Regions from separate parts of the Homo sapiens genome. Here all the other regions are linked to region 2. The links are contacts of gene promoters, found by promoter capture Hi-C in blood cells and fetal thymus (Javierre and others, 2016). All regions are on one chromosome and are shown on one strand. The core of a region is centred on a gene start or on the middle of the fragment in contact, and the rest is flanking DNA. Distances in the headings are between cores, read along the strand shown. Region 1 overlaps SMAP1 (small ArfGAP 1). Region 2 holds the start of PHF3 (PHD finger protein 3). Region 3 holds the start of BAG2 (BAG cochaperone 2). Region 4 overlaps FAM135A (family with sequence similarity 135 member A). Region 5 overlaps KCNQ5-DT (KCNQ5 divergent transcript). Region 6 holds the start of LINC01610 (long intergenic non-protein coding RNA 1610). Region 7 has its middle 12 kb from the start of SMAP1.

What was found. Contacts are between HindIII fragments. The CHiCAGO score rates a contact against its expected background, and 5 or more counts as called.
Region 1: a contact is called between a fragment that was not itself captured here and the fragment with the promoter of PHF3 in region 2, in 1 of 17 cell types (non-activated CD4 T cells). The highest score is 6.7, in non-activated CD4 T cells.
Region 3: the fragment with the promoter of BAG2 here is called in contact with the fragment with the promoter of PHF3 in region 2 in 4 of 17 cell types (non-activated CD4 T cells, naive CD8 T cells, total B cells and 1 more); the score reaches 27.4 in non-activated CD4 T cells.
Region 4: a contact is called between a fragment that was not itself captured here and the fragment with the promoter of PHF3 in region 2, in 4 of 17 cell types (non-activated CD4 T cells, total CD4 T cells, naive CD8 T cells and 1 more). The highest score is 13.9, in non-activated CD4 T cells.
Region 5: a contact is called between a fragment that was not itself captured here and the fragment with the promoter of PHF3 in region 2, in 1 of 17 cell types (non-activated CD4 T cells). The highest score is 5.7, in non-activated CD4 T cells.
Region 6: a fragment that was not itself captured here is called in contact with the fragment with the promoter of PHF3 in region 2 in 1 of 17 cell types (naive CD8 T cells); the score reaches 6.0 in naive CD8 T cells.
Region 7: a contact is called between a fragment that was not itself captured here and the fragment with the promoter of PHF3 in region 2, in 2 of 17 cell types (activated CD4 T cells and non-activated CD4 T cells). The highest score is 8.8, in activated CD4 T cells.

What each region holds. Positions count from the first base shown.
Region 1 is chr6:70,678,732-70,681,431 of GRCh38, forward strand. The region is part of intron 1 of SMAP1 (small ArfGAP 1); the gene reads left to right. Among named protein-coding and RNA genes, the nearest start is that of SMAP1, 12 kb to the left of the region's middle. The HindIII fragment of the contact is 4,869 bases long and covers 1-2,700 here.
Region 2 is chr6:63,634,456-63,637,155 of GRCh38, forward strand. It overlaps PHF3 (PHD finger protein 3), which reads left to right and starts at 1,347. Exons shown (of 16, transcript NM_001370348.2): 1 at 1,347-1,695. RefSeq lists enhancers at 35-572, 1,104-1,924 and silencers at 1,142-1,501, 1,942-2,121. The HindIII fragment of the contact is 3,030 bases long and covers 327-2,700 here.
Region 3 is chr6:57,170,896-57,173,595 of GRCh38, forward strand. It overlaps BAG2 (BAG cochaperone 2), which reads left to right and starts at 1,431. Exons shown (of 3, transcript NM_004282.4): 1 at 1,431-1,915. The coding sequence starts at 1,803. It overlaps ZNF451-AS1 (ZNF451 regulatory antisense RNA 1), which reads right to left and starts at 1,318. Exons shown (of 4, transcript NR_110742.1): 1 at 1,179-1,318; 2 at 110-203. RefSeq lists silencers at 1,444-1,523, 1,574-1,843 and an enhancer at 1,578-2,335. The HindIII fragment of the contact is 6,211 bases long and covers 1-2,700 here.
Region 4 is chr6:70,414,585-70,417,284 of GRCh38, forward strand. FAM135A (family with sequence similarity 135 member A) reads left to right here. Exons shown (of 22, transcript NM_001162529.3): 2 at 707-792. Among named protein-coding and RNA genes, the nearest start is that of FAM135A-AS1, 2.0 kb to the left of the region's middle. The HindIII fragment of the contact is 548 bases long and covers 1,033-1,580 here.
Region 5 is chr6:72,617,441-72,620,140 of GRCh38, forward strand. KCNQ5-DT (KCNQ5 divergent transcript) reads right to left here. Exons shown (of 3, transcript NR_186827.1): 2 at 411-566. Among named protein-coding and RNA genes, the nearest start is that of KCNQ5, 3.3 kb to the right of the region's middle. The HindIII fragment of the contact is 1,020 bases long and covers 855-1,874 here.
Region 6 is chr6:70,392,417-70,395,116 of GRCh38, forward strand. It overlaps LINC01610 (long intergenic non-protein coding RNA 1610), which reads left to right and starts at 1,786. Exons shown (of 4, transcript NR_125857.1): 1 at 1,786-1,856; 2 at 2,269-2,627. LOC105377847 (a long non-coding RNA gene) reads right to left here. Exons shown (of 5, transcript XR_942668.1): 2 at 2,603-2,700. The HindIII fragment of the contact is 3,343 bases long and covers 1-2,700 here.
Region 7 is chr6:70,654,948-70,657,647 of GRCh38, forward strand. No RefSeq gene overlaps it. Among named protein-coding and RNA genes, the nearest start is that of SMAP1, 12 kb to the right of the region's middle. The HindIII fragment of the contact is 7,215 bases long and covers 1-2,700 here.

The DNA of each region.
Region 1 (2,700 bases), core at 197-2,696, 7.0 Mb after region 2:
AGGCCACCTGCATTCCTTGGCTCATGGCTCCTTCCTCCATCTTTGAAACTAGCAGTGTGTCATCCTTGATTCTGCTCCTCCTTGCCCTCCACTTCCATCATTACATCTTCTCTGGCATGTTTATGACCTTTTGGCTTTATCTGGGTAATACAGGACAATACTGCCATCTCAGTGTCCTTAAGTTATTCACAGAGATTCCAAGGATAGAACAGGACTTCTTTGGGGGCCATTATTCTGCCTAACAAAGTGGATTTGTGATAAAAATTATATATGGAATCTAGATTTTTTGTTTTTTTTTTTTTGTTTTTTTGAGATGGAGTCTTACTCTGTCGCCCAAGCTGGAGTGCATTGGCATGATCTCGGCTCACTGCATCCTCTGCCTCCCCGGTTCAAGCGATTCTCCTGTCTCAGCCTCTGGAGTAGCTTACAGGTGTGTGCCACCACACCCGCCTAATTTTTGTATTTTTGGTAGAGACGGAGTTTTGCTATGTTGGCCAGGCTGGTCTCAAACCCCTGACCTCGAGTGATTCGCCTGCCTTGGCCTCCCAAAGTGCTGGGATTACAGGCTTGAGCCACCGCGCCTGGCCAGAATCTAGATTTTTATAAGTGGTACAGAGTTGGGTGTATTTAAGATGGTATGGGATGATGAAGTACTACTTAAATTAGCCTTTCTCACAGGACCTATTTAAAAATACATGCATGCAAGAGTCATTTAACAATCTCTTTGCAATGGGATCATTTATGTAGGAAATCCCAAGAAATTTATAGAAAAGCTATTAGAATGAATAATTGAGTTTATTAAGTTTACAGAAATAAAGTGACTATAGAAAAAGTAACTCTATATACTAGCAACAAATAATTGGAAGTTGAAATAAAAATTATGATTTATAATAGCATAACAATATGAAAACTGTGGGATAAATTTAACAAAATACGTGCAAGACCTGTATACCAAAAACTACAGAAGATAGCTGAGAGAAATTAATGAATACTGTACCTAAAGAAGTGGAGAGAGGTATCAGAGATATCATGCTCATGGATTAGAAGACTCAATATTTTTAAGATGTCAGTTCTCTCCAAATTAGTCTCTAAATTCAACATTATTCCAGTCAGAATCCCAGAAGGCTTTTTTTGTTGCAACTGACAAGCTGATTCTAAAATTTTTAATGAAATGCAAGGGACCTTCCAAAATCAAAACATTGAAAAACAAAAAGAATGTTTGAGGTCTTACACAACCTGCCTTTAACAGTTATTAAAAAGCTATAGTTATCTGTGGAACATAATACGTAGTCCAGAAATAGACTCACATATTATGGTCAGTTTTTAACAGAAGTGCCAAGGTAACTCAATGGAGAGAAAGGATAGTCTTTTCAACAACAACAACAACAACAACAACAACAACAACAGAATGTATAATACCTTGAACCTTACCTCAGACCATTCACAAAAACTAATTTGAGATGGATCATAAAACTAAATTTAAGAGCTAAAACTATAAAACTGCTAGAAGAAAACATGGGGGAAAATCTCTGGGACCTTGAATTAAGCAGAGGATTCTTGGATAGGACACAAAATTATATTCCATAAAGTTAAAATTGAGAAAATGAACTTCATTAAAATTAAAAACTTTTGCTTTTCAAGAGACACTTAAAAATCATAGATGGCTGGGAAAAATATTTTATCTGGTAAGGACCTTTATTCAGAATATCTAAAGAAATAATGCAACTTAATAATAAGACAAAGTAAAACAAGCACTTGAATGTTCATAGCAGCATTATTCATAATAGCCAAACACTGGAAACAATTCAAATGTTTTATCAGTTGACGAATGGATAAAGAAAATAGTGCGTCCGTACAGTGGAATAATGTTTTACAGTACAAAGCAATGAACTAGTGGATGAGTCATAAAAACATTATATTTACAAAAGAATCCATACACAAAAGACAACAGAGTATACATTACAATTACATGGATTTCCTGTTTTTTTTTTTTTTTTTTTTTTTTGAGTTGGAGTCTCACTGTGTCTCCCAGGCTGGAGTGCAGTGGTATGATCTCGGCTCACTGCAGCCTCTGCCTCCCGGGTTCAAGTGATTTTCCTACCTCAGCCTCTCAAGTAGCTGGGATTACAGGCACGTGCCACCACACCCAGCTAATTTTTGTATTTTTAGCAGAGGCGGGGTTTTGCCATGTTGGCCAGGCTGGTCTCGAACTCCTGACTCAGGTGATCTGCCCGCCTTAGCCTCCCACAGTGCTGGGATTACGGTTGTGAGCCACTGCGCCTGGCCATAATTACACGGATTTCTATTAAATAAAAGGATAAAACTTATAGGGACAGAAAACAGGTCAGTGGTTGCTAAGGATCGGGATGAGGGAGTTTATTTAAAAAAAAAAAATACAATGCATAGGCTAGGAATGGTGGCTCACACCTCTAATCCCAGCACTTTGGGAGGCCAACGCAGGTGACTCACTTGAGCCCAGAAGTTCAAGGCCAGCCTTGGCAAAATGACGAAACTCTGTCTCTACAAAAAGTGAAAATAAAATTAAAAAAAAATAGCTGGGTGTGGTGGCACGTGCCTGTGGTGCCAGCTATTTGGGAGGCTAGGGTAGGAGGATCTCCTGAGGAGGTCAAGGCTGCAGTGAGCCGTGATTGTGCCACTGCACTCCAACCTGGGCAACAGAGTAAGACCCTGTCTCAAAAA
Region 2 (2,700 bases), core at 97-2,596:
CTTGTTTTTATAATTCATCCCAGACATCCCAAGTGAGAATTAAAAAAAAAAATTACTCATTTCTATTTTCCTTTCTCAAAAACACATTACAAAAAGATTGTAAAACAAAGTCTTGAGGGATTGATTAGTCAAGACAGGGGGTGAAACTCTTAAGAATCCAGTGGAATCAGGACAACCCAAACTTCCTTTGTAGAAGAGCATTTGCTATTAAGAGTGCTTAAAATATCAGAAGACTAGAGAGAGGAAAGAACAGATCTTCACCACATGCCTGTGACTTATTCTTCCACCCTGCACTAATCTTACAATGTGGGCTGCGGTTGGTCTAAAGCTTAAATCAACAAGTACTGTAAAGGTTTTAGAACAGTGCAGACCACACAGTAAGGTGCTCAGCAGGTACTGGCTGAATACTGTAATAGTCCCTGTAGATAAAAGCCACAAACCCTGTCCCTAAGTAGCTCCTTTTGGTTGGAGTGACTGACAAGCAACAATTACTTCACAGCGCTTATTAAGGGCTGAGATAGGGGTTAGCTCAAGTGTCTGTGGAAGCAGACCAGTGGGTCTCAAACTTTTTTTGTCTCTGGACCTCTACACAATATTTGTTACCACAAATAATGTATTTATGAAAAGCATATTTTCCAAATTAATAAAAGGGTGATATCTAAAATTTCTGCAGATTTCCTCAATGTCTGGCTTAATAGAAGATGGCTGGATTCTCTTATCTGTTTCTGCATTGAATCAGCTGCTATATGCTGTTTTGGTTGAAGGGTGGGAAGAAAATTTGGCCTTAGACACATGCTCCTGGCAAAGGAATGGAGGCTCTACTGAAAGGTCTTGGCGACCCCTCAGGGAAACCTGGGACCACATTCTGAAGACTGCTTACTGGATACCAAGAATGTTTCTTGGAGGTAGCAATTTGAGTCCTGAGGTAGATCAGCCATGTAGGGTGAGGGTAACGGAGGTAGTTAATGGTAAGGCTGCTGTGCCGAGCCAGCACAGATATTTGGGCAGAGGGCTCATCTACTCCATCCTATTCTACCATTCTTGAACTCACAGTCAATTAATAAAAAGTACCTGGGGTTGGGGAGCTGCGCATCAATATTATATTAACTGTGAAGCCTTAGTGCTTACTACGGTCGAGAAAAAGCGCTCCTCTGATTCGCCCCTCCCGGCGGCGCGGAGGTGTGAGCTAGAAGCCCGCAGGCGGTGCCGCGTCCTCCGAAGACAGGGAGGGGCGCGGCAACGCCGGGAAGCGCTGCAGCCCGGGGCCCCACGGAGGCGCGGCGCTCGAGGCCCTAAAGCGCGCAGGCGCGGCAGCGACGCAGGCCGCGGCCCCCGGAACGGTAAACAGTGGGGTCACGTGACACGGCCCCTCTCCAGCTCCCGCGCCGCCGCCGCACGCCGATGGCTGCGGGGTCTCGCGCCGTCGCACCGTCCCCACGCGGCAAGCGACCTTCGGGCTCAGGGCGGCGGCGGCTGCAACGAGGATTAGGAGGGCGGCGCGGAAGCCAAGAATAGTGTCGTCAGCAGCAGCCATTTGGTCCCAGGAGGAAAAGAGGCTGTGGCAGCGACGCCGACGTCCTGCGCGTACCCCCTCTCCGCGGCACCCACCGGGCCCCCTCCTCCTCCTCTTCGGCGGCGGCAGCGTCCACCATCTTCCTCTTGCTGCCAGTGGTAGCGCTCGTCTGGCGGAGCTGGGTGAGTTGCGGCTGTGGCCGCGGCCAGGGAGACGGGCAATCCTCCCCTCCCCCATCCCCTTCCACACGCACAGCGCCTCCGCGGGCCTCTCCGCCCCTCCCGCGGCGGACTCTCCGCGCTTTTCTCCCGCGCAGCCGAGAGATCGCCTCTCGGGCCTCTTGCGCAACGTCCTCGGCCTACCTGGGCCGCGCCGCTGGCGCCTGTGGACCATTTGGACCGCGGGCTGGGGAGGGAGTCGCAGCGACGCGGTCGCCAGGCGGAGGGTCGGGACCACGGCCTCTCTCCCGACCACTGGTACCCAGCCGTCTGCTGCGAGGGCGCCCCGCCGCCGCTGAGGCGCGGGCGCGCAGGCCCGAGGCACGGCGGGCGCTGCCTGGAAGGCCCGTCTCGCAGGCCCCCGGATCCGGCCGTTGGGGCCTCTTCCTTCTCAGGGAGCCCCAGCATGGAGCTTTGGGCCTTGGTTTCGGGAAACTGGGACTGGCCCTGGCTGCTAGGCTGCTCCCTGCTGCTGCTTTTTGGAGATGAGAGTTGCTCTTCCATTTATCCTCCAGTTACCGCGCGCTTTTGTGCCCGGGACTCAAACTGTGGACTCCTTTTGCTTAGTTTGAAATGAGAAGCCTAGACTCTTGCCTTCCGATAATACATGTAATTTAATGAACCACTTGTCGATACGTACGTGTTAATGGTGCTAAATAACTGATCACCTGACACGGGGGGCGGGGGCGGTGCGGAGAGTAGAAAGGAAGAGAATGTTGATATCGCGCACGGAGTCCTGTGTCCCTCCTTTCCCTCAGGATGTGTTGCCGGGTTAGGTGACCTTTTTCCATCTTTGGGCTTTTAAATGCCAATTCCTAGAGACTAGATTGGGGTGGTTATTAGTGCTTTCCAGTAGTCACGCGTAGAATATGTTCATGGATTAATGTTAAGTGGCAACACTGCTTTAATATTCTAGTCCTAATCTGCATTACATGTAGCGATATTTAATTTAAAAAGAATAATCGATTA
Region 3 (2,700 bases), core at 181-2,680, 6.5 Mb before region 2:
TTTAGGATTGCTGTAGTTGCTGCACTGAGATAACATGTACATGAGAGGCAAGAGTAGAAGCAGGGAGACCAGAGAGGAAGGTATTGTAGTATTCCAGGTGCAAACTCACCAGGTAGCTTGAACCAGAATGGTGGCGGTAGAATTGGGAAGAATCTGGATATATTCTGAAGGCAAAATTGATGGGGTTTACTAATGGTGTGGATCTAGGATAAGAGAGAAAAAGAGTTCAGGATGATTCTAAAGTCACTTGATAGACTTTCAAACCACTCACAAAATGTGTTTTGTTTTCGTTTGTGTCATGATAAAGTTATTTTTAATAAGGTCAAATAATCCCCTACCCCAAGAGTTAATTAGGATTTAAAATGAGTTCAGAGGGAATTGGGATCCAGCCTTAAGGGCTTCAACTCTGTTCAAGTATTTAAATGGCTTTGATCTCTGATTAAAGGTGGTGGCTCAGCTTTAAACTATTATTATCTATCATTTTCTGTGCCCTGTACATTGTCATCCTTGCAATGAGAGGCATAGAGCTATCAGGAGAGGGGACTAAAGCCTAACTTTTTAAGTAGACTAATCTTTGTATCCTCAGCTCTATTCCGTCTTTTACCGACAGCTGGTGCCTGACCTAGAGGCCTACTGCATCTTTTTTGTTAACAGGATTTTTAAAAGTTGAGGACTTTTTAATGCCAATTATTTCACTCAGAATATTTATTTATTTATTTATTTTTTTGAGACAAGGTCTCGCTCTATCGCCCAGGCTGGAGTGCAGTGGCGAGATCTCGGCTCGCTCAACAGGAATAATTTTAATAGCAAAAATTTAAAACCCCTTCATTAAGCCAGGCGTGGTGGTTCACATCTGTAATCCCAGCACTTTGGGAGGCTGAGGTGGGAGGACCGCTTGAACCCGGGAGGTCGAGGCTGCAGTAAGTCGTGATCGCGCCACTACACTCCAACGTGGGCGACAGTTAGACCCCATCTCAAAAACAAAAGAAAATTAGAATGGTAAAAATGAAGTAAATTCACTTTGCTTCCCACATCTAGCTAGACAGGGAAAGATGGAGTAGCTTTTTCTTTTTTACTTCATAGCTTCAGTGTTGTCCGGGCTTTCATTACTCTCATCTCAGTATAAAGTGGTAACAGGAAGGTCAGGTGAGTGTGGGCTGCCTACGAGCTGTACTTACTGCCTTCTGTTTCACAAAAGGACGTTTTCTCCCCATAATGTCGTTGTTCTTGCTTTGAATTATGGGTGCTGGGAGAAACTAAACGAAGCCGTCACTGAGCAATACACCCACAGCCCGTCGACCGATAGGAACCTTCGCGTGGGGGGAGTTGGTTACTTTTAGGTTGCATGAAGAGGCGGGGCCTCGCGGGGCGGAGCTGGGGGTGGTCTGTGGGTCCGCGCGGGCTTCGGGTAGTTCCTGGGTCCGGGGAGCAGACGATCCGCTAGCCACATTAGGCGCTCGGTCTCTGCGTCCGCCCCTCCCGTGCCTCAGAGACTTGCGCTCCCCAGGCCCGAGCCCCTGTCGGCCCATCCTCGAGCCCGTGTGGCTCGCGAACCTCTAACTCCAGCCGCTGCAGCCCCCTCCCAGGCCCGGCGTCCCCGAGCCCCGCGGGCGCCGCGCCTGCCCTTCTTTGGCTACGCTGCAGCCGCGGTGTCGGCGAGTCCTCCCGGGTTGCCCCCGCGGGCGTCAGAGGGAGGGCGGGCGCCCGCGTGGTGACGGCGACGCCTGCAGCCCAAGGAGCGCTCCACTCGCTGCCGCCGGAGGGGCCGGTGACCTCTTGGCTACCCCGCGTCGGAGGCTTAGATGGCTCAGGCGAAGATCAACGCTAAAGCCAACGAGGGGCGCTTCTGCCGCTCCTCCTCCATGGCTGACCGCTCCAGCCGCCTGCTGGAGAGCCTGGACCAGCTGGAGCTCAGGTGAGCTCCGGGCGGGCGGTCTCGGGCGTTCTGCTCGCCGCGCGGGCGGTTCGCGGGCGGTTAGCGGACGGAGGCCGCGTGTGGCGGGCCGGGGCCTGGGGCACAGTGAGGCTGCGGCAACCGAAGTTGCTTGTTGAGATTTGTTGTGGATGGACGTGGTGTAGTTTTGTTTGTTTCTTGGATTATCTCCCCTAGTCCGAGAGAAAACGCATTCGATTTAAGCTAAACCTGTGAGGGCGTTATCGGTGGCCACACTTTGATTAATTTACCTAGGTGTTAGGGAGCGGAAAAAAATCAGAGGAGATAAAAGTTACAGTGAGATTCCATGCGATTAAGGACTGTGGCAGCTTGGGTCTGCAGAACTTCTAGAACCTTCTGTGTGGCCCCAAACGTTTTAACTTACTCTTCTCGTTATGCATTTTTTAAGGGAGGCAGCAGTTTACAGTGGCCCTCCACGTGAAGTTAAGTTTCCTTGCTTCAGAACAAAAATGAATAAAACAAAACCAACCCAGCAATCCATTGAGAGCAAAGATTAGACAGGAGTGAGGGGTAGGCAGTAAGTTACCGGGTGCTTCGTGCAGCAGAGACGTTGCCGCTTCTGTTTCTCCCCTAACCTCGCGGACGGGATTCAGCGGTTCCGTTCGTCTCTCGGTATTTATTGGGCACCTCCCTACATAGAAGACTAAGTGCTAGTTACTGGCCTGAAAGCATGAAAAGATAGTTTTCCCCTTTTCTTGCTTAAGAATTTATTTGGTAATACAGTAGTAGACTTGTATAGAATTTCT
Region 4 (2,700 bases), core at 57-2,556, 6.8 Mb after region 2:
GAAGACTTCTTTGTGACATACCCTTCTAGTCCTTGCTGCTTTCTGCCTAAGCTAGGTATCCACTCAATGTTTCTAGTTCATCTTCCAGTTTAATAACATTTCTTCTTTCTTTACCGGTTGGTGGAAGTATCATCAAAAGAGTGACAGTAGCAACAAATCGGTTACACTTACTGATTAAAGCTTTAATTTTTAAGAATTATGTTTACCTGGCATGCCTGGGAAAGCAACTTGAGTACAGACTAAATGAAACTATAATGGGTTAAGACTTGTTAAAGGTTGACCTACAAACATACACTTAAAATTTGGAAATTTTCTTGTCCTCCATTAGGTGTAGCTGTCCAAGAACTAATCTTAAATGAAATTTAACAGAATTTCTTTTTTAAAATGTATTATTAATTTGTTTTATACATTTGCTATTGCAATTGATTGCATAATTTTCCTGAGAGTCTCTGTTCTCTAATAAATGCATACAATTTCTGCTACCTTTAGAATTAGTGTGCTTATAGGAGACATACGTGAGAAGTATTAAATTTTTTAATTGAGCAGAAGAACTTTCTAAACGGTTTTGTAATTTTTTTCCTCCATTGCATTGTGATCAAGATTTGGCTTAAATAAAACTTCTCTTTCCATAAATAATGGTATAGTATCTTATTTTGAAGGCATCTGCTGAAGCAATTATGTTTAGTGAAGTTTGTCTTTATTGTAGGGTTGAAGATCAACTGGATTATGTATTTGGTTCTGGAATCTCAAAGCAGTCCACAAACAAATTCTTCCTTATGTTGTCTGTGTCAGGTAGGAATTAAGTTTTCTGTTTCTGTTTTAAGAAGGGAAATACCAAGGCAAAAAAAAAAGTGTAGTTCCTTATTCAAAGTGATTTAAAGTAAAACTAGGAGGCTCTGGTGTCATCAAACCACACTTCTTTGAGAAGAACTAGCAATTGTGTATGGTAAGAGGTGATGCACTCATCAGCTTTTAAGATTTTTTAAAAATGATTTTTCAAATGCAAATAAAGAAACTGCTGCTTCTCAAGGAAGCTTGCACTTCCTTCAAATAAAAAGCCAGGTCTTTTTATTTTTAGGTAAACATTCATTTTAAAAAAGTAAATGCCTACAAATTCTTGCTGGTATTTTTAGTGAGTTGGTTCCTGTGCTCTTATAAATTAAATAGGGATTTGTGGTGGACAGCAGGCAGAAGACTAGAATTTCTAGTCAGAATATATGAACTCTTATGATGACTCATGACATTAGTTTGTAGAACCCACTTAACCTGTGTATCTCAGTATCTCCAGCTGTAAAGTAATTAATAGCAAAGCAAGCCCTAATCATTTAAACATGCTTAGGGCCACCGCAGACAAAAATTGCTATATAAATACTTAGTTTTTATCTCTTTAATTTTAGACTGTGTAGTAAGAGTATAATTGACTGCTTAAATCCCAAATCAAACATTTCTTTTTTAAATTTCAGACTTCTGTGAAAAGTCTAGTAGAATGCTGGTGAACTGTGGACTAGCACTCTATTAGACTTTTCTAATGTACTAGATAGATGTACCAAATAAAATGACCTGGCTTTGAAAGAAGTGCAAGCTTCCTTGAGAAGCAGCAGTTCTAATGTACTAGAGTTTTCTAATTAGTACATTAACTAATGTTCACACATTAGTTAATGTTCATACACAGTGAAACAGACACTGCAGCATTCAGTTTGTAAAACAGATATTCCTTTTGTTTGCCACGAGTTGACACTGAAAGGAAATGTAAGAGTTACACCTATATCTTTAGTTAATCCTTAATTTTCTGTTTTATATTTTTATTTTGTTTACATTAAATAAAATCTTTATTTTGTTTACATTAAATCCTTGTTGTGAGGGCTGTTTAGGGGGTAGAAAAGCCAAGGATTTCCTTTGCTTTGATTCTAGGTATTGAGGAAAAAGTGCTTTAACATTGAGTTTTTTATATGTACATGTGTGCATTTAAATAAATGGATGGAGCTGAGGGCATATAGATTTGAAGTGTTTTTTCATGAGTTGTTTGTCAGGAAGAAGGTTTAGAGATGACTAGGAATAAGGTGGGGTGTGGTGGCTCATGCCTGTAATTCTAGCACTTGGGGAGGCTGAGGCAGGAGGATCTCTTGAGGCCAGGAGTTCAAGACCAGCCTGGGCAACAGAGCGAAACCCTCTCCTAATTAAAAGAAAGAAAGAGGAATAAGAAGCAGAATGGTAATATAGAAGAAATCATTCTTAATGGACTCAGTGGTTTTTCAGAAAAGTTACAAAGCATAAGTGATTAGGCAGGTCTAGGTTTTTCAGAAGGAATAAGGTGAAACAACTCCACAGTAGGTTCACATTTTATTTTTAAAGATTGGCAGTTGTTAACAGGTACATACTTGGTTATTGATAATGTGCTAAATTTAGAAGAAATATTAGCTTCTTTTTTCCTAATAGAAATGTAAAAGTATCAGGCATATTATACCATTAAGAGACATCTCCTACTTGAGTAACTAACCCTTCAGGTAGTTCTTATTTTGATGAAAAAAATTTGATAAACTATCTCTCAACCGAGAAACCATTCTGAGAAAATTATAGCATATTTCCTTTTATGGCATTAGGTCTCTATGAGATCATACAGAATATAGAACATATTTCTAAATTATGTTATAAATATATTGATAATAGACTGGGACTTTTTTTTTTTTTTTGACAGAGTCC
Region 5 (2,700 bases), core at 115-2,614, 9.0 Mb after region 2:
CCTCAGCCTCCTGAGTAGCTGGGATTACAGGCACCTGCCACCATGCCCAGCTAATTTTTCTATTTTTTAGTAGAGACGGGGTTTCACTGTGTTGGCCAGGATGGTCTTGAACTCCTGATCTCAAGTGATCCACCCACTTTGGCCTCCCAAAGTGCTGGGATTACAGGCATGAGCTACCACATCCGGCCTGAAATAATTACTGTAAACCACAGTGCCTAACACATACAAAACACATGATAAGTATTTGCTATTATTTTGCTTCAACAATTGTGATCAGCACAATATTTCAGTAATTCCTAGAAACAGTAATTTTGTTAGCTGCTGGAATAAAAATGGTGAGAACTTGTTGAGCCCTTTCCGCACTATTTCTCTACCAGCCTCTCCTTACAGCCACACTCATTCACACCCACCTCCTTTCTGCATCCCTGGGGCAGAGGTTGTTCTGAAGAACACTGTCCCATTTGCCATGTGAGGTAGGCCTGGGACTCCTACTGTGTTATGACTCTCATGCAGTCTGGTGAGGCTCATATGATCTCTGACGTTGTCCTGGGTTCTCTGATTAATTTCTGCTTGTTGAAGAAAGAGCGTGAGAAGTTTGTATCATAACTCTTAGAGATAAGAATTGTTGATGACTGATCAAAACAAATGGTATATTATGCTGATACATTTAAAATAATAGCAGGAGATAAATATGTTTACTGAACCAATGGTTATGATATCTATGAAATGCAATATAGCTGTTATGCTTATTGGTTTGGTTATGGCCTGATTGGAAGGAAATAAAAGCTAAGGAGAAGGGTGGTAGCTTAAAGGGACTCCTATTCAGGAGTCTGGAGACTTCAGTTCTACCCCTAAGCTTACAAGGCAAATTGCTGAGCCCTGTGCACATCATTAAACAGCAGCCAATCATGAATTTCCATTTCTCCATTAGTGCATTTTCTTTTTGTTGATTATTTTCTACTTTTTAAGTTTTATATTTGCCCCTTCATTATTTTCCCAAGCAGACTCATGTCACATGCATTTCCTTTTTATTATAGGGTTTAAGAATTCTATTTATCATTCCCTGTCTGATTAGCCCAGGAATTTCACAATGGATCAATATGCACCCATATCACTAAAGAGTGGCTACTAAAGAGCGTATCTTGTAGTAGGAGATAGGCGCAAATGAGAAAATGGGTAGGCATGAAGAAGAAGGAAAGTGGGAGAGTGAGTCATTGATGCTTTGTGAAACTCGTCCAGATCCAGTTATTCTGCCCCTCTTATGAGCATTGAAAGTCTTTTTTTTGTGCATCTCTAGCTCATGTATAGAATTTCAAATATTATTATTTCAGAGTACCTTTCAGAAGAATAATACAATGGGATAGAAAACACACTGAGGCCAGGAGCAGTGGCTCACGCCTGTAATCCCAGCACTTTGAGAGGCTGAGGTGGAAGAATTGCTTGAGTTCAGGAGTTGGAGACCAGCCTGGGCAAAACAGCAAGACCCCATCTCCAAAAAAGAAAAAGAAACACACTAAAATAAAATATCTCTAGAAACTATGTTCAGTTGAAACCATATCCATGTAGACTTCAGAAAATGTTTCCAAGGTCATAAATTTCAGGCAAGCATCTTAAGAGAATGAATGAGTAAAAGCAAACACATCTCAAAAGATGGGGAGGGCCAATCAACTCACATACTTTACACTAGCAGTTAACATTTGCCTTTACCTCTTCATAATGCTCTAATGTAATTATAATGCATAGAATATACACTGTTTTACTCACTGCTCAGTATGCCTATCCTCTTTTCTAAATTTGAATTTTAATATTTCAGCAAAACGAACTAATAAAAGGCAGTTTCCTAGCAACGTCTGTATTCAAAGGAACAACAACAAAGCTTAATCGCAAACACCTTATTTTCTCCAAAGTTAATTCCCGTCTTTTGAGGGAAGTTAGCAGGTAGCAAATAAAGCAAGGTGCAAACAGAGGCTCTTGTAGGAGAGGTTGGCACAGACTCACTTGGCTTTTTCTTTCTGGGCATTGAAAGGTAGGAAGGTTAGAACTTCAGCTAAGCCAGTCTTTCCCAATGGTTGCAGTCAGAGATTGATACAAAACCCCAGAACTGTTTGCTATTTTATCCATTCTCTGCTGGAGATGCAGATTGATTGGTGGAAGGAACAGTGAACTAGGAAGCCAGGTTGTTGGATTCCTAGTAACTCTCACACTACCCGCGAAAACTTGAGCAGGCCCTCTTTTTCTGGGCTGTGTATCCAAATGGCGGTTACTCTAGAAGACATAAGTGAAAGGTCCTTCTCAGCAGCTCAAAACGGCTACCAGTAACCGGGTCTTTTTTATTTTTTAATTAAGCTTAAATGGCATTTGCTTAATCAATAATACAGTTTCACTAGAACTAATGCTGCATCCCCAGAAAAGCATCACTTAGAAATTAAACAGCTGGCTGTCTTCCAGGGAAACGTGTCCCTGTGTCCTGCCTTCCTGAGACTTCTTGCCTGCACGCGGGGCCCAGCCGCGCCAGAGAGATGGAAGTGACTTTACCTACCCAGCGAAAGTAGCAGTCTGCAACAAGGAAAACAGCTAAGTTAAGAGGAAGTGGTTTTCATTTTACTGCTTGCAGAAAGGCCAAGATTTTGACGTTTAAAGCGGGCACACGAGTCATTTTAAGTCTCTAGATCTTTCACCCTGAAAGTCCCTGCACAGAAA
Region 6 (2,700 bases), core at 173-2,672, 6.8 Mb after region 2:
CATAGGAGAAAAAAGGAAACAAAAGGCAAATGAAGAACACAAAATTTCAGGACCTATTCATAGAAAAATAGGCCAATTTCAAACAAACAGTTCTCCCAAGACTCAAAGAAACTAAAGGCAAGTTGGCTTTCCTTAAAAAAAAAAAAATTATCCTGAAAGAATAACAAGAGATCGATCAAAAGAGAGATGAAGCAAGAACAGGAGATAAACAGTGGGTGTGTGGAGCTCAGAGATGAATAGAAGCATAAGATGAAATTATTACAGAGGTGAAATTCTCATTAGAGTCAACAAATGGTAACACATATATATGGATAAAAATACAGTCTAGGACAAAAAGAAAGCCCTTGAGTAAATAACATAAAACGAATTGGAAAAGAACAGAGATAAAATAAGAAAGGAGGTGGTATGGACATTAAACAAATAATCACTTTCATGGAAGAAAATAATATATGGAATGGGAAAAATTCAAATATATAATTGAATATAATTTTCTTGAAACAAAATCTCAAATCTATAGATTACAAAGACATAGCTTAGCCAAATTCCTGAAAATGTTGATGAAGGCTAATTAGTAAGATAACTTAAAAATGGATTTAGAGCAGCAGGTTGTAAGAAGTTACACAGCAGAAAAGAAGCACATGAACCAACTCTACCAAAATGAGAAAGAATAGGAGGAAATGAACTGAAGAGGTATTTAAGATCCTGGCATTTAGTAAGCCGACCATGGTATGGTTGTTAAGAGGCCAGCGCTGTAAACTGCCTAGATTTGGATCCCATCCCTGCCGTTTATTACCTGTGTGACCAAAGCAAGTTATTTTGCCTCTTGGTGCCTCAATTTTCTTAATTTTAAAATGGAGGTGATATTAGCCACCCACATAACACAGTGACTGTGAAAATTGAGAAAATACATTTAGTCTTCTTTAAAAAATGCCTTTCATATTCAGCATTGTCAATTATTATTAAGTTCAACAGAGCTTGGTGATTCTCTGAAGGTGAGAGAGTAAGAGACAGGGAAGACACGAGTTGATTCCTAGGTTTCAGGATGTGACAATCATAATGCCATTCACTATAGAGAGAATACAGAACAAGGGTAATACAGAAGAAATGATTTTTTTTAATTCTCAATTGATATAGTCCCCACCCAAACCTCATCTTGAACTGTAGTTCCTGTAATTCCTATGTGTCGTGGGAAGGACCAGGTGGAGATAATTGAATCATGAGGATGATTTCCCCTATCCTACTCTCGTGATAGTGAATTAGTTCTCACGAGATCTAGTGGTTTCATAAGGGGCTCTCCACCAACGCTCTGCACTTCTCCTTGCTGCCACCATGTGAAGAAGGACATGTTTGCTTCCCCTTCTGCCATGATCGTAAGTTTCCTGAGGCCTCCCAGCTATGCTGAACTGTGAGTCAATTAAACCTCTTTCCATTATAAATTATCCAGTCTTGGGTATGTCTTTATTAGCGGTGTGAGAACAGACTAATACATCAATTATAATGGATTCATTTTGAACATGTTAAGATTGACTTATCTTTGAGAAGATAGGTAGAGAGGTCCTGTGGGCACCTAGAACTCACCTAGGGCTGAAGGCAGGTGTACATGGCTTTAATGTGTGTGCAGAAGCCATGAATGTGGATAAGATCTCCTTTGTGATGTACATAATGAAAGAAGAAAAAGGGCGAGAACTGAACCTGTGGAATATTCCCATTTATCAGCTGGCAGAAGACTAAGGCCTGTGACAAAGGATCAGTGGAAAAATAAAGAAGAAGGAGAGGATAAATGATGAATCAAAGGCACAAGGACAGGCTGGGCACAGTGGCTCATGCCTGTAATCTCAGCACTTTGGGAGCCCAAGGTGAGTGGATCACTTGAGCTCAGGAGTTCAAGACCAGCTTGGGCAAAATGGGAAGACCCCATGGTGGGAGGGATATATACATATATGTATATACATAAATAGTTGTGTGTATATATACACACACATATACAGTTGTATATACGTATATATATATATAGTTGTGTATATATACACACACACACATATATATATAACAAGTACATTGGAGAGGCTGTGTTCAGGAGCACAGATGAACAGGTTGGCCTTTGCCAAGGGAAGCACATATTTTCCACCGAGAAAGAGAACGATGAGGGTGTGCGTGGAAGCAGGTTAAGTGTGTAGACTGTAGTTGGTAAAGCTGAAAGAGCTCTTACTGAAAGATTCTCCCCGGGGCCTGAAAGTTTAAGGGAATGAATAACTCCGCCCTCCTCAGGCCCAGTCCCAAGGTGCAAGGCCACTTGTGCTAGCAGCATGCGTCAGCAAGATAGCAGAAGCAGGAAGAGAGCTGGCCGGAAGATATGTACCCTGTGAAGACCGAGAGAGAGGCCGTCCAGGTACCACGTAGCAGTTACATCAGACTGAGACACTTCCTGTTTACAGGAGACTATAAAACCCCTGCCCCATCCTCATTTGGTGCTGATGCCATTTTCAGCCTCAGCACGCCTGCACCCAGGCGCTCATTAAAACAGCATGTTGCTCCCCACTGCCTCGTGTTGTCTGTTGGCGCGCTGTCGGGGTTCGAACCGATACAAGAACCTTCCACCTACCTGGTGCTTTGGCCTCATCTATAAGGTAAAAGCAAAGCCATCTGTTGCTAAATATTGGAAACTCTGTGTAGCAGTGAAGATTAGAAGTAGTTAATGAT
Region 7 (2,700 bases), core at 187-2,686, 7.0 Mb after region 2:
AACTGGTCTCCCTGCATCTGCTCTTGCCTACATCCAGTCTTTTCCCTACACTGCTGCCAAGAAGGTTTTTTTTTTTCCCTCAAAACATAAATCTGATCATGTCAGTCAGAGTTCATAATACTCCAATAACTTCCTATTACTCTTGGTATAAAGGTAATTCCCTAATTGCAATTTATCTTATTTAACAAAGCTGTGTTAATTCAAGTTCTCCAAGAAGCAGATGCTAAGATGGGATTAGACCTGAAAGATGTTTATTAGGGGGGATGTCTATAAAAATAAACAGGAGAAAGAGAATGCAGAAGAACTTTCAGACTGTGAGGCAGGTCTAACACCTGTGGAAGAGACGGGGCAGGAAGGAGGATTTGGGTAGGAAGAGGCTCAGATTGGGTAGGAAGAGGCAGCAAAGTTCTGAGAAAGTTTTGGCCAGGTCAGCAGGGGTCTTTGAGGCAACATTGCCTGTTAAAGGAGTCTCTTGTCTTATATCAGTTGCCTTCCCTCACCCTCCCTACCAGTGCATGCTCGTTATTGGCTGGGAGCAGCCCAGGGGAAGCATGGCCTTGGTGCGAACACAGTGGCGGATTCAGGAGAGCAGTGGCTCAGACTGTCAGTTGCCTGTGCTCCCCTGTGGCAGAAGAGCTGAGTGGTGGGCTTTTATGACCACTGAAAAGCCCTGTATGGTTTGATCTCTGCTTACCTCCCCAGCCTGGCCTTGTACCATGCAGCCCTTTGTGGTCTCAGTATCAATACAAGTCTTTTGTTACTTCCTTGAACATAAATATTATGTGTTTCCAACCCCTCTCCCCAATACAGAAACTAATTTTGTAATTTTAATAGAGAAAGGGTTTCTCCACGTTGGTCAGGCTGGTCTCGAACTCCCGACCTCAGGTGATCTGCCTGCCTCGGCCTCCCAAAGTGTTGGGATTACAGGCGTGAGCCACTGCGCCTGGCCTAGTTTGTCTTTTTAATTGATAAGTAATATTTTATTGCATAAATATATCATTATTTGTTTATCCATTCTCTTGTTTATGAACATTTAAGTTGTTTACAGGTTTTGACTACTGTGACTAAAGCTATTATCAACATTCTTATATAAGTCTTTTTATGAATATATTTTTTTCATTTCTCAGAGTGGAATTTCTGGGTCACAGGAGAAGTATATGTTTAACTTTAACTGACAAACTGGTTATAAAATTTTATGCTCCCAACAGCAATGAGAATACTAGTTGCCTCACTACCTACTTACCATTTGATATTATCATTCATTTTATTTTAGTCATTCTAGTAGGTATAAAGTGGCATTTCATTAGTTTTTATTGTACAATTCCCTAATTACTAATGATGTCTCAGGAGCTTACTGGTTCTTCATGTATCTTTTTGAGATATCTCTTTAAGTCTTTTGCCATTTTAATGGGTTGCCTTTTTATTATTGACTTGCAGGTGCTCCTTATATATTCTCTAAATAAGTCCTTTGTATTTATCACATATTACAAATATTTTCTCCAAATCTATAGCCTGACTTTTGCCTTTTTCTCAATGGTGTCTTTTGAAGAGCAGAAATTTTAAATTTTAATAAAGTCTGATTTCAATTTTTTTTCTTTTATGGTCAGTGCATCTTGTGTCCTAAAAAAATCTCTGCCTATTCTAAGGTGGAAATGAATAAATAACATTTTTAAACAATTTAAAATAAACCTATGCCTATTTCCTTTCCGTCTTGCTCCTAAAATTATGCTACTTTTAGTTTGGAATCACTGAGATGATATACACTATTTTGGTAAGAAGGTCAAGAATGAAAAATGGTGGAAAATTTCATGTGTAAAATGTTTCATTCCAGCAAAGTTACCAAATTGCAAAGGCCTAGAAGAAAGGCCTAGAAATGAGTTCCTTTAAAGACCAGAAAAAGAAGCTAACTTTTTAAAGAGCATGCTGTCTTAGTCCATTTGAGCATCTATAACAAACTATCTTAGACTTGGTGGCATACAAAGAGCAAAAATTTATTGCTCACAGTTCTAGAGGCTGGGAAGACCAAGACCAAAGCACCTGCAGATTTGGTATCTAGTGAGGAGCTATTCCCTGGTTCATAGATGAGGCCTTCTTATTGCTTGCTCAGTTGGTGGAAGGGCTCAACAAGCTCCCTTGGGCCTCTTTTATTTTTATATTTTTTATTATTTTTTTGAGACAGAATCTCACTCTTGTTGCCTAAGCTGGAGTGCAATGGTGTGATCTCAGCTCACTGCAACCTCCACTTCCTGGGTTCAAGCGATTCTCCTGCCTCAGCCTCCCAAGTAGCTGGGATTACAGGCGCTCACCACCATGCCCAGCTAATTTTCGTATTTTTAGTAGAGACAGGGTTTCACCATTTTGGCCAGGCTGGTCTCGAACTCCTGACCTCAGGTGATCCACCCACCTGAGCCTCCCAAAGTGCTGGGATTATAGGAGTGAGTCACTGAGCCCGGCCTTGGGCCTCTTTTAGAAGGGCACTAATACCATTAATTAGGACTCTGTCCAGATGACTTAATCACCTTCAAAGGCTCCACATCTATCAGATTGGGGGTTATGTTCCAACATGAAAATCTAGGGGGACACAAACATTCAGACCATAGCACATTCCCCTCTACTTTCATCAAATGGTGCATGGCTCACTATCAATAATGTTGGTGCTCTACATAAATCTGTTCTATGACTTTTAAAATTTAACAAGCA